3 separate regions of the Homo sapiens genome follow, and regions 1 and 3 are each linked to region 2. The links are contacts of gene promoters, found by promoter capture Hi-C in blood cells and fetal thymus (Javierre and others, 2016). All regions are on one chromosome and are shown on one strand. The core of a region is centred on a gene start or on the middle of the fragment in contact, and the rest is flanking DNA. Distances in the headings are between cores, read along the strand shown. Region 1 overlaps TULP4 (TUB like protein 4). Region 2 holds the start of TULP4 (TUB like protein 4). Region 3 overlaps TULP4 (TUB like protein 4).

Evidence for each region. Contacts are between HindIII fragments. The CHiCAGO score rates a contact against its expected background, and 5 or more counts as called.
Region 1: a contact is called between a fragment that was not itself captured here and the fragment with the promoter of TULP4 in region 2, in 2 of 17 cell types (M1 macrophages and endothelial precursors). The highest score is 5.7, in M1 macrophages.
Region 3: a contact is called between a fragment that was not itself captured here and the fragment with the promoter of TULP4 in region 2, in 2 of 17 cell types (M2 macrophages and M0 macrophages). The highest score is 5.3, in M2 macrophages.

The regions. Positions count from the first base shown.
Region 1 is chr6:158,507,858-158,511,633 of GRCh38, forward strand. It overlaps TULP4 (TUB like protein 4), which reads left to right. Exons shown (of 14, transcript NM_020245.5): 14 at 1-3,776. Among named protein-coding and RNA genes, the nearest start is that of TMEM181, 50 kb to the right of the region's middle. The HindIII fragment of the contact is 165 bases long and covers 1,587-1,751 here.
Region 2 is chr6:158,311,098-158,314,899 of GRCh38, forward strand. TULP4 (TUB like protein 4) reads left to right here and starts at 1,368. Exons shown (of 14, transcript NM_020245.5): 1 at 1,368-3,171. The coding sequence starts at 2,920. RefSeq lists an enhancer at 2,992-3,071. The HindIII fragment of the contact is 1,254 bases long and covers 421-1,674 here.
Region 3 is chr6:158,490,112-158,493,976 of GRCh38, forward strand. It overlaps TULP4 (TUB like protein 4), which reads left to right. Exons shown (of 14, transcript NM_020245.5): 10 at 3,462-3,606. Among named protein-coding and RNA genes, the nearest start is that of TMEM181, 68 kb to the right of the region's middle. The HindIII fragment of the contact is 4,804 bases long and covers 1-3,865 here.

The DNA.
Region 1 (3,776 bases), core at 419-2,918, 200 kb after region 2:
GTGTTCACCAGGGTATTAAAATACAGAGGAGTATGGTCAAATCTTTGACAAAATTTTCATGATCTTCTCTAACAAAAAAAGTTGTTTATTAACTGTACAGACTGTTTACTAAGGAGCTAAACCACTGAGAAAACGTTATTAAAATTGTAATACCTAGGTAGTTGGTTGATCACAGTTTGTTAATTGTATAAAAAAAAATTACCTAGAATATCTCTTCCCACTTCCTCGTCCTCGTGAGAACCTGTGGGCAGTATTCAAGCCCTGATGACAAAACCCAGTGTTTTTTGTTGTTGTTTTTTGTTGTTGTTTTTTGTTTTTGTTTTTGTTTTTCTCAGTCTTACCTGTGATGTTGTTTAGGATCAGGCCCCTCTCCTGGGCCTGCTGTGCAGGAGCACAGGAACTATCTGCTGGCGTTGGGTTCCAAATTTGCATTTTATTTGGAAACAGACAAGTAGAAGATGCTACAGAAAAGTATTTTCAAATTTAAACGTTTTTTAATCCCCTGTTTTAGTTAAAAAATTGGAAAAGAAACCGACCCATTTTTTTCCCAGATCAAGATGACATGACATCACTCCCAATTCTCTCCAAACCCCAGAGAAATACTGACGAAGTTTTCTGATGTGGCAAAGGATATTTCCCATCTAATACCAGTTTCTCATTTATATTTAACGTATTGGACCTGATATTTTTAGTGGGTGCATTCTTCCAGAAAGAATTCAGCAATGTTATCAGAATTAATTCTTTTATATGAGTTTATGTAGCTTGATATGGTGTTTCAGTGCTTATTGGTTGTGCAATAATGGTTATAGCCTGTTAGATAATCTAAATGCAATTCCCCTGTTTTGTCGTTTAGGAGATAATTATTTATCTTGCTTTTCATAGTGTTCTTAGGAATTATTTTGTTGTTACGTTTTGGTGAGTTATACCCATTTTATTTATTTAGAAAAATAGTATCTTTGTTAACGACTTACATGGTCACAGTATATTTTGCTGCAAGAAATAAAGAGGATATGATAGAAGGTTTTTTTTTTTTTTTTTTTTTTTTTTTGAGACGGAGTCCCACTCTTGTCGCCCAACTAGAGTGTAGTGGCACAATCTCGGCTCCCCACAACCTCTGACTCCAGGGTTCAGGTGATTATTTTGCCTCAGCCTCCCAAGCAGCTGGGATTATAGACACCCGCCAACACGCCAGGCTAATGTTTTTGTATTTTTAATAGAGATGGGGTTTTGCCATGTTGGCCAGGCTGGTCTTGAACTCCTGACCTCAGGTGATCCGCCCGCCTCGGCCTCCCAAAGTGCTGGGATTACAGACGTGAGCCACCACTCCCGGCCCATAGAAGGTTTTTTGCTGGATAATTTGTAACTTTTCTAATTGGGAAAAAATTCCTATTAATCACTTAAAAATTTTTTTTTGTATTTTGTGTTATTGATTATATACAAAGGAGACTTTTTTTTTGAGATAACACTCAAATAGTATTCTCTTCTTTTGAAAATTTTATTTTTATCTGAAAATAACAGTTGATCTGAAATAAAAAGGGGAGACCTATTAGAATGAGAGTAGCCAAGGAAAGAGTTACTAGGTAATAAGCTTCACTTTTTGTGTTCTAATTGTTTTTGAGATATAAAGACCCTGAAAAAGCCCATTTTAGAACCTGTTTAATAAGAGCAAATATAGGGGAAAATCTTTGAAATGAAAGCTACAAATACATGTGAGAAGAAAAAAATGGATTTTTTTAGCAAATAATTAACTAAGCTTCTAAATGCCTAGCTCCCTCCCCCAAAGGCGCTTTCCCCCGATGGAGGCACAGGCTTCTGTCTCGGATGTTTGGCGCACGTGAGTTTGTATGAGTTTGTACCGGAGTGACCCCGGCAGCCACTGCCCACCTCCCCTCTACCCAGGGGCCTGAAAAGAGGGGCTGCCCTCCTGCGCCAAGGCAGACACAAGCTGCGGGCTGTGCGGTCCTAGTAGTGTGACGTTTCAGTTAATAGTGGTGGTCTTATTTTCAACTATGCTTTCATTCAGTCAGTCTCTGTTGACTAAATACGACGAAAATTCATACTTTATGCAGGAGATTTCTAAAAATTTAATGTTTATTAATAGTTTATGAATATCAAGATACCTCATTGAATCCCTAAATTTAAAAGCAGTCCAGTAAAAGGTTAACTGTATAAAGAATCTATGACTTTTTGAGGGAAGTGTGATATATTAACAAATATAACCAATTCTAAATTTGTTTTAGCTCTAACCTCATCAAACCAAAGGCACAGATTTGTGTACAATATACCCATTGAATGTATATCCTGAGAAAAATTGGGGCCAAAGAAGCAGGAAAATCTCAAAGCTCTAATGGCAGCATAAATCAAAGAATTTCACAGGCTAGTGTTTTTATCCATAGCCATTGCTCCCTTGTCAAGTGTCTCACAAGGACATGGAAGAATGTGTTATGTTCATCTTGTAATCATAGCAAAAAGTCTGCAAACCCCAGGGTCAAGCCTGCTCTGCCACAGGGTTGGATGGTGACCTTGGGCAAGTCCCTGGGGCTGGCTAGGCCTCCACTTGTCCATCTGTGAAATGAAAGGATCAGCCTGGACAGCCCTCTAAACTCCCTTACAGCTCTCAGCCTAAGAGCGCAGCACTGAACAGCCTCATCATTCCACTTTTCATGGGAAATATATTTCACACCATTGCCTTTGTGTAGAGAAATATTTCTTTTCCTGTGTTAATGAGCTATGTACTGAATATAAACCAGTGCATTTAAAGTAATATCTTTTGTGCACCTCTAAATGTGTTTGGAATTGTGTTTGTTCTCATAGAATATACAAAAGTACTGATTCTAGGTAAGAAGGAGTCTCCACGGGTGTGCCCTGCTCAGCTGGATGTCCATGAGAACAGCCATGAAATAAGTCACTACTTGTCCCCAAAACCACAGGAATATATACCTAGGTCACCTCAAATTCCTGAGTGTGCTCTGCCATGTTACACGGTCTTCAAATTGAAAAGGTTTCTTGAAAAGGAAAGTTTGGCCCAGCAACTGGAGAAGGAGTCCATGGTGTCGCTGTGTGCCTGTATCATTTGGCCAAGTCAATGGTTGTAAGCAAAGTTAGTGGAGACAAAAATGTGTCCAAAATGTCGTTTGAGTTCCTGGGATTTCTGTAATAGCACACAACTCAGAACTCTTCAGCATTTGTGTGATTCCTTACCTCTGGCTGATAAAACTCTAATGGGTTGTGGCTTACTTTGTTTCCATTTTCTTTGGCTTTGTGCAATTTTTGTGTAACTTTACTTGTACCTATATTTTCTGTTTACAGTTCTTTTTAAGGGGAGGGGTAGGGTTCTAAGATCTTGTTGTTTATTGTAGATAAAAATTTTTTCGTGTTGTAGAAAAGCATGGGTTATGCGTTTGACTGAAAAAGACACTGTATTATTTACCAAAGGGGTATTGTTTTTGCATTTGTTTATAAATGCATTATTTTGGTACTGTAAATTTGGACATAATTTCTGAGTTTATTACTACTGGCATTTTCTTTTTCCCTTTTTTTTTTTTTTAACCGTAAGTGCACGATGCAGGTGCATAGGCCCCAGACCAAACTAGACCACCAGCATGTTCATGTCCAGACCTCGGCAGTGGCGTGCACTGCTTGTGCACCTCAGTTCCTCCAGTGTTGGTTTGTTTGTTTTTTAATTCAGCATCCTGCTGGTTTTACTTTCCAAGCAAGATCTGTTGCGACTCCCAAATGCGTTTTAATGAGCTCATCCTTATTTGCCTTTCTTCTTA
Region 2 (3,802 bases), core at 118-2,617:
ATTATGTCCTAGTATTATGATGAAAGTAGAGTCTTTTGCTGGGACTTGATGCTACAGGCCAGTAGTTCTCAAAGCCTGGTTCCCTGCCCAGCAGCATTAGCATCTCTTGGGAGCTTATTAGAAATGCGAACACCTGGGCCCTTCCCTTCCCTTTCAGTGTCCAGTTCCTGTGGGATGGGGCTGGGCCGCTTCAGCTGCCCCAGGAGACTGAGAGAGTCTGCTGAATTTGAGAAAGTCCACTCTGCTTTCTGGAAGGACTGGCGGGGCGGGAGGGCAGGGAGGATGAGTAAGTTAGGGACAGAGTGTTCTCGTGTTTGTAGAGGATGTGATGCAGCCTGGACTTCAGGCAGTAGGAAGAAGATGGAATGGATTTGCTAGAGACAGATTCTCTAGAACTTTATTGCTGGTAGACCACATAAAAGCTTAGAAAACAGCTGCGCTTTGCTCCGAGACCTGCCAGCCATCAGGGACGAATGAGTTTTAAAGGCCCTTACTGCTTTGTGTCTTGAGGGAATATCTTTTATTAATCGTGAAAAAATCAATCCAGATAACTTGCCTGAGTCATTTCAGTCTCCTTTTTGAGGATGCCTGCTTAAACAGCGACCATGGTCTCTGGAGGGGTAGAGTCTCACATTCGGAGTTCAGTCTCTTAGAAAGTACAGTTCAGTGTGGAAGAATGGCAGTTATGATTTCATTCAGATGTGCCCAGCTGCTGACAAATTGAATACAACGATCAGTGGCAGGCAGAACTCTCATTTGTTGTGTGTTGTCTTGAGTCTGGTGAGGTGTATCCTTTCACTATTGGATTTTACCATTCAGTGCAGTCAGTAGCTCCATTTGATGTAAGTGTAAAGATGGGTCTCTCATTTCAGTTTCAGCAATTATTCTTAAAACCTTTATTTTCCAGTGTTTTAAAGTTTTTAAATTTTATATCTTTTTTTTTTTTTAAACAGATTTGTAAGACTCCAGGGCCTCCCAGCCGTGAATAATCTGATGGTTCCTGAAATGACTGGGGAAGCAGACGCTTCGTATGGCAGTTGAAGAGTGTGTGTCTATGTGCATTTAAAACCTTCTTTCTGTACTTACACATTCACACGGGAAGACAGGCTCATTCTTGTGCACACTTGAGAGTTTTACAACTGATGAAAATTAATTTAAGAATCAGATGGAGCAACTTGACACCAGTGGGCTCAGGAGCCCGGGGAGAAAAATACATCACTAATGGCCAGTTTTCCATATGGTCTGCACGGGTAAAGAAAGTCTGCAAAAAGAAGAAAAAAAAATTTGCGCAGATTAAACCACAAAAATATTCTCCAGTTTAAAGAAGGAACTAAGTGAGAAGGTGACTGAGAAAGAAGTGTGATTTCAAACATTGCAGCGGCTCACACAGTGTTTGTTGCACTTTATTTTTCAGTGGGTTTGGTGATTTGGACGGATTAAAATTCTAGACTGAAAAGTAACTCCTACTGTGGTTATGGCTAGAGGAAAGCAAGTTCAAGTATGATGGGACAAGTTTGAATAATGAACTGATTCCTTTGCCTATCTTAATTAACTGTATTTGAGAAATTTTAATTTATTATTCCCCCCCTTTTTTCCTGCATCTATAGGATAATATTGTAAAATAGCAATTGAAACCAATAATTATTAAATAAATATCAAGGAAAATCCAAGCAAAGCTTTCTTTTTGTTGGACTAGTGGTGTGGTGTTTGGAGACAGTCTCTGAATGTGAACAGGAAAGCACCCATCAGCAAAACACTATCACTCTCTAGGGAGACAGCTGGGGGAATCTGACTCTGGCTTCTGCTTTTGTTTTAAGGGATTAACTTCCCTGTCAAGTCCAAGAAGACTTGCGTATGAGAAGATTACCTGATGGACTTAATTCTAAGATTAGCTTTTTTCATCAAGATGGAAAAAGATCTTTAGGAGCAGAAAAGGGGAGTGCTAACTGGGGGAGCGAGAAGGGAGACGAGCAAAAGAAACAAAATCTTGCCACGTGGCTCTGTTTTGTCAGCAAGAGGATTTAAGACTCACCCAGGGCAAACACTGGGACCACTGTAAGAGCGCTGGAACATTCTGCCTCTTGAGTGAAGGGGCCTTCTTTCTAGCCTCTATGGCACTGAGGGGTGCGCCGGCTGGTGGAGGAGCAGTCCGATGGAGCCCTGCGTTCCCCGGGGACACAGGGCCAAGCTTTGAGGTGGAAAGTTTCTGGTTCTGAAACAACAAGGAGAGAGTCTGTTTTTCTTCCTAAAATTTGGACTCTTGTCTGCACAAACTCTGGTCTGTTTTGCACGGTTTGTGTGCCTTTTTTTCCCTTTATGCAATCTTTTTCAGCTTTAGCAGCAGAAATTTGTCTAGTTCAGGAAACATGCTAGAGGGTGGCTTCAGAAGGAAGATGATCCTGTGTATTCTGTCTCTGCATCCGAACTTTTGAAGAGAAAAATTCGAGCTAGAGGGATTCTTAAAGCCTTAAGTTACTTGAAATCTATGTATTTGCAACCCTTTGTCTCTGGAATCATATTACACTAAACTGGAATCTCAGGCTGAATGAGAATAACCAAGTGGAGTAAAAAGAAGAAAACCGTTTCTTGATCACCACTTAATTAACGATGCTCTTTCTCCAAAGGATCAGCACGTTCTTCCTCTGAGAACTTGAAAATACAAATGGACCCCATGTTTTTTTAAGCATTACCTTTTCTTAGAAGACTGCCATCATCTTTTATAGAGGAATTTTTTCACTATGCATTCGGTGGATCTTTATAAAATACTGACCTTCTAATTAGATTCAGGTCAGTCTTAATTAAAGGGGGAAAAAAGCAACGCAAGCCAACCACAAAAACACATATACCAATGAAAGAAATTGGTTTAAATTTCACAGCATTAACATTACTTTTTAAGTAAAACAGTTCATTGAAGAAAGTATGTATGCAGCAGTGGAACATGGGCCTGTGCTTTGCAGCGATTCCAACATCCTGTGCCTGTCCTGGAAGGGGCGTGTCCCCAAGAGTGAGAAGGAGAAGCCTGTGTGCAGGAGACGCTACTATGAGGAAGGCTGGCTGGCCACGGGCAACGGGCGAGGAGTGGTTGGGGTGACTTTCACCTCTAGTCACTGTCGCAGGGACAGGAGTACTCCACAGAGGATAAATTTCAACCTCCGGGGCCACAATAGCGAGGTGAGCTGTGGTTTTGTTTCACTTTTTGGTCACTTCCAGTGGTGTTTTTGAGCCCCTTGTGGACTTGAAACTTCCTTCATTTCAGTTTCATAGACTTGCTGCCTAGTGAGACTTCCCATGCTGTGAGTTCTGTCTCTTATTCTCTGGCAGAAAAGATGCTAAGATGGACATAGTTCACAGTAGGCTGCGCCTCCCCAGGTGGGTCAGTTGTCCCTGGCACCCCTGCTGTCCTCTCCCTGCACTGTCTCTCTTAGAGGGTCCGGGCAGTGGGAAGACGCCCAGCAGTAGGGAGGCCAGGGCGCTTTCTAACCAGGGTGGGGGGTTAAATTAGATGATCCTAACCAACTTTTCGTGCTCCAAGTCTACATGGCAAAGAGTTACCCCCACCCCTGATGTCCCACTGACAGTGTGAAAAATGAAAGTGGTGCTGCCTTTACCTTGCACGGTTAACATCTACGTTCCTTTGGTGATGGCTTAACACTTGGCTTGTATGTTTTCGTACTTGGAGGTAAAGAAGTAGTTAATGGACAAAAACCATAGTTTTTCACATGTATAGGGTATATTATATTGAGGCTATTATGCCATATATTTGTACATGTAGATTCCTCTGGGCTTCTAAAATATAAGCAGT
Region 3 (3,865 bases), core at 490-2,989, 180 kb after region 2:
CTGGAGCCGGGCACAGTGGCTCACGCCTGTAATCCCATCACTTTGGGCGGCCGAGGCGGGTGGATCACGAAGTCAAGAGATCTGGACCATCCTGGTCAACATGGTGAAACCCCGTCCCTACTAAAAATACAAAAATTAGCCAGGCGTGGTGGCGGGTGCCTGTAGTCCCAGCTACTCAGGAGGCTGAGGCAGGAGAATCACTTGAATCCGGGAAGTGGAGGTTGCAGAGCCGAGATTGTGCCACTGCACTTCAGCCTGGCAATAGAGCAAGACTGCACCTCAAATAAATAAATAAATAATAAATAAATGCCTGTAATGCCGTAATTGGGAAACATCAACACATCGCATCCACTGTAGAACCTTTTTCTTCACTAAGATTTCTAGTTTTAATTCTGTGATTTTTTTTCTGATGCCATGAAAAACTAAGGTATAAGTTACATACAGATACACATCTGTCCAAATCGTAAACACCTAGCTCATTGTACAAGGGCTATCCCAGTGTCTTCCCCCAAGTTCAAGATAAAAGACATGTCATCATCCCAGAAAGTCTGCCTGTGCTCCCTCCATTTGATACCCATTCCCTAGAAGTAATCACTCTTCTGACTTCCATCATCAGCTTTGCTTGTTCTTAAACTTCATATGATATGTCAAACGATATGTTCCCTTTGTATCTGGCTCTTTTTTTTTTTTTGCTCAGTGTAATGATTTTGAGAGTCATCATGTTGTTGCATGTATCAGTAGTTTGTTTTTCTTTATTGCTCCGTGGTATTCCATTGTAATGATTATACTACAATTAGTTTACTCTGTTTACCAATCAATGGATATTTGTAGTTTCCAGTTTGAGGCTATTATGAACAAATCCATGATAAACATTCTTATACAAGTCTTTTTGTGGACATGTGCGCTCATTTCTCTTGGATATAAACTTGGGAAAGGAGTTGCATGGTCATGGGTCAGATACATGTTAAAGTTTATTAGAAACTGCCGAGCAGTATTCCAGGGTAGCCGCACCCACGTAAATCCCTACCAGCAATTTCCAAGAGAGTCCCAGTTTCTTCCATCCTCAGCAGCGGCTCTGTTGTCATTTTTTAGAAATAATTCTACCTTGTTCTGATAGGTGTAGTGGCATCTCATTTCAGTTTAATTCTGATATCTCCAGTGATGGATGCTGCTTCGTTTGCATGTTTCTTGGCCACTTGGCTGTCTTCTTCTTTTGTGAAGTGTCTGTTCAAGTCTTCTGCCCAATTTATTATTGGGTTGTTTTATTGAGTTATAAGAGTTCTTTCTTTCTTTCTTTCTTTCTTTCTTTCTTTCTTTCTTTCTTTCTTTCTTTTCTTTCTTTCTTTTCTTTCTTTCTTTCTTTTCTTTCTTTCTTTCTTTCTTTCTTTCTTTCTTTCTTTCTTTCTTGTCTCGCTCTGTTGCCCAGGCTGGCGTGCAGTGGCATGATCTCGGCTCACTGCAACCTCCACCTCCTGGGTTCAAACGATTCTCCTGCCTCAGCCTCCCGAGTAGCTGGGACTACAGGCTTGTGCCACATGACCGGCTAATTTTTTGTATTTTTAGTAGAGATAAGGTTTCACCATGTTAGCCAGGATGGTCTCAATCTCCTGACCTCATGATCCGCCTACCTCGGCCTCCCAAGGTGCTGGGATTACAGGTGTGAGCCACTGCAACTGGCCCAAGCTCCTGTGTACCCTCCCCTCCCTTTAGAGCAATCACTACAGGGGCATCTGAATGTCTCATTCTTTTTTGTTGTTGTTTTTTCGAGCTGGAGTCTTGCTCTGTCGCCCAGGCTGGAGTGCAGTGGCGTGATCTTGGCTCACTGCAACCTTCACCTCCTGGGTTCAAGTGACTCTCCTGCTTCAGCCTCCTGAGTAGCTGGGACTATAGGCAAGCGCCACCACGCCCGGCTAATTTTTGTATTTTTTAGTAGAGATGGGGTTTCACCATATTGGCCAGGATGGTCTCAAACTCCTGACCTTGTGATCCGCCCGCCTTGGCCTCCCTAAGTGCTGGGCTTACAGGTGTGAGCCACCGCACCCAGCCAAGAGTTCTTTCTTCTAGATTTGAATCCTTTGTCAGATATCTGTATGGCCATATAGTCCAGCACGTGGCATTCTTCTTTTGTGGTTAGTGCTTTCTGTGTCCTGTTCGGGATGTCTTTGGTTACCTAAGGTCATGAAGCCTTTCTTCAGTTCTCTTCCAGCAGCTTTCTAGTTTTAGCTTTCATGCTTATGGATTAATTTTTGTGTTTGGTATGAATTAGAGGTAAATGCTCATTTTTAAATATGCAGATATCCAGTTACTCTAGCAATCTGATTGATGTCTTTTTTCATCTTTGTTCCAGAGCTTGTTAAAATTGCATGTAACATTATGAACTTTCCTATATTTCCAAAGTGCTTTTTTCCCATTATGTAAGCAGAGAGGACATCTAATGCATGCAGCTAAATCCTTCACCTTTAAACGTCCTCTTCAGGTTGCCGTCTTCCTGTGGCTGGACCTCCTCCTGTTGTCCTTTCCCCATTTGGACCCTCCACACAGCAGCCAGGCTAATTGTCCCACATCATAGCTTTAGGGAGCTCAATCTGCCATCCTCCCACTCCTCAGGAGCCCAGAGTTTCTCATCAAGCTCAAAACCAGTATATATGAGACTTAATGCATTTTTTCATAGACTGTTTTAAACCTTACCATACTCATTTTAATCACACTGTCTTTGGGGTAGACTGTCATTAAACATGTGTGTCTCCATGTTACAAATAAAGGGACTGAGAAGCAGAGATACAACATGGGATCAAAAGGCAGCCAAAAAACTTTACTAATTTGATTTAAATATTGCAGATGGTGAAATGCTAGATAAATTTGTTGAAATTCACACTGTTGCAGAAGAAATTATAAGAATCACTGGCATTAGGGTAAGAAATGACTTGTTCCACCTGCCATTTTCCCAGGACTGATTGTGCAGGCCCCTGGCAGAAGGCCATTTCCACGCTTGCTCCAAGGCAACAGAGAGTGAAAGACAGTTAATTCTTTGAGTTCCTTACAAATGGATCGCTGGATCTCATTTCAGTGTATACTAAGTATATTTTGAGATGGGGTCTTGCTCTGTCATCCAGGCTCAAGTGGAGTTGTGTAATCGTAGCTCATTGCAGCCTTGAACTCCTGGGCTCAAGCGATCCTCCTGCCTCAGCCTCCCAAGCAGCTGGGACTGCAGGTGTGTGCCACCACACCCAGTTTCTCAATATATTTTAAAATGTATATTATTCAATGTAAAGTTGTCATTCTTTCCTCATATTCATAAAGCAAAAGCAAGGGGAGAGCTTTGTTAAATTCGGGCACTGGCTGCAGGGTGAGAACCCAACACCCAGGCTGGCTGTCCAGAAAAAGAAAGGACTGCTGGAGTCAGGGCCATGCTCACCATTCCCGCCACGGATGCCTGACCCCTCCTGGCCTTGCCTCCCCAGGATCAGCATTGAGGCCCGCAAGTCACCCAAGCTGCCCCGGGCTGCTCAGGAGCTCTCCCGGTCCCCACGGTTGCCCCTGCGCAAGCCCTCTGTGGGCTCGCCCAGCCTGACTCGGAGAGAGTTTCCTTTTGAAGACATCACTCAGGTAGGAGCCCCCAGTTACCCTGCCTTGCTCCCCTCCTCCTGGGGGCTATGCCCAGAGGGCCCCTTCCTACCCGCCGCCTGCACTGCTCACTGCCACCATGGGTCCCTGAGCTCTGCTCCACATCCTGCACACCACCTACTACCTCAGGAGTAGCCCTCAGGTGGAGCTCTGGCTTCTCCACCTGTGCCCCTCAGCCAGTTCTGATCTTGCAGTGACGGTGGGAGAGAACCTCCCACTTCCCATCACAGCTCCCACCGTC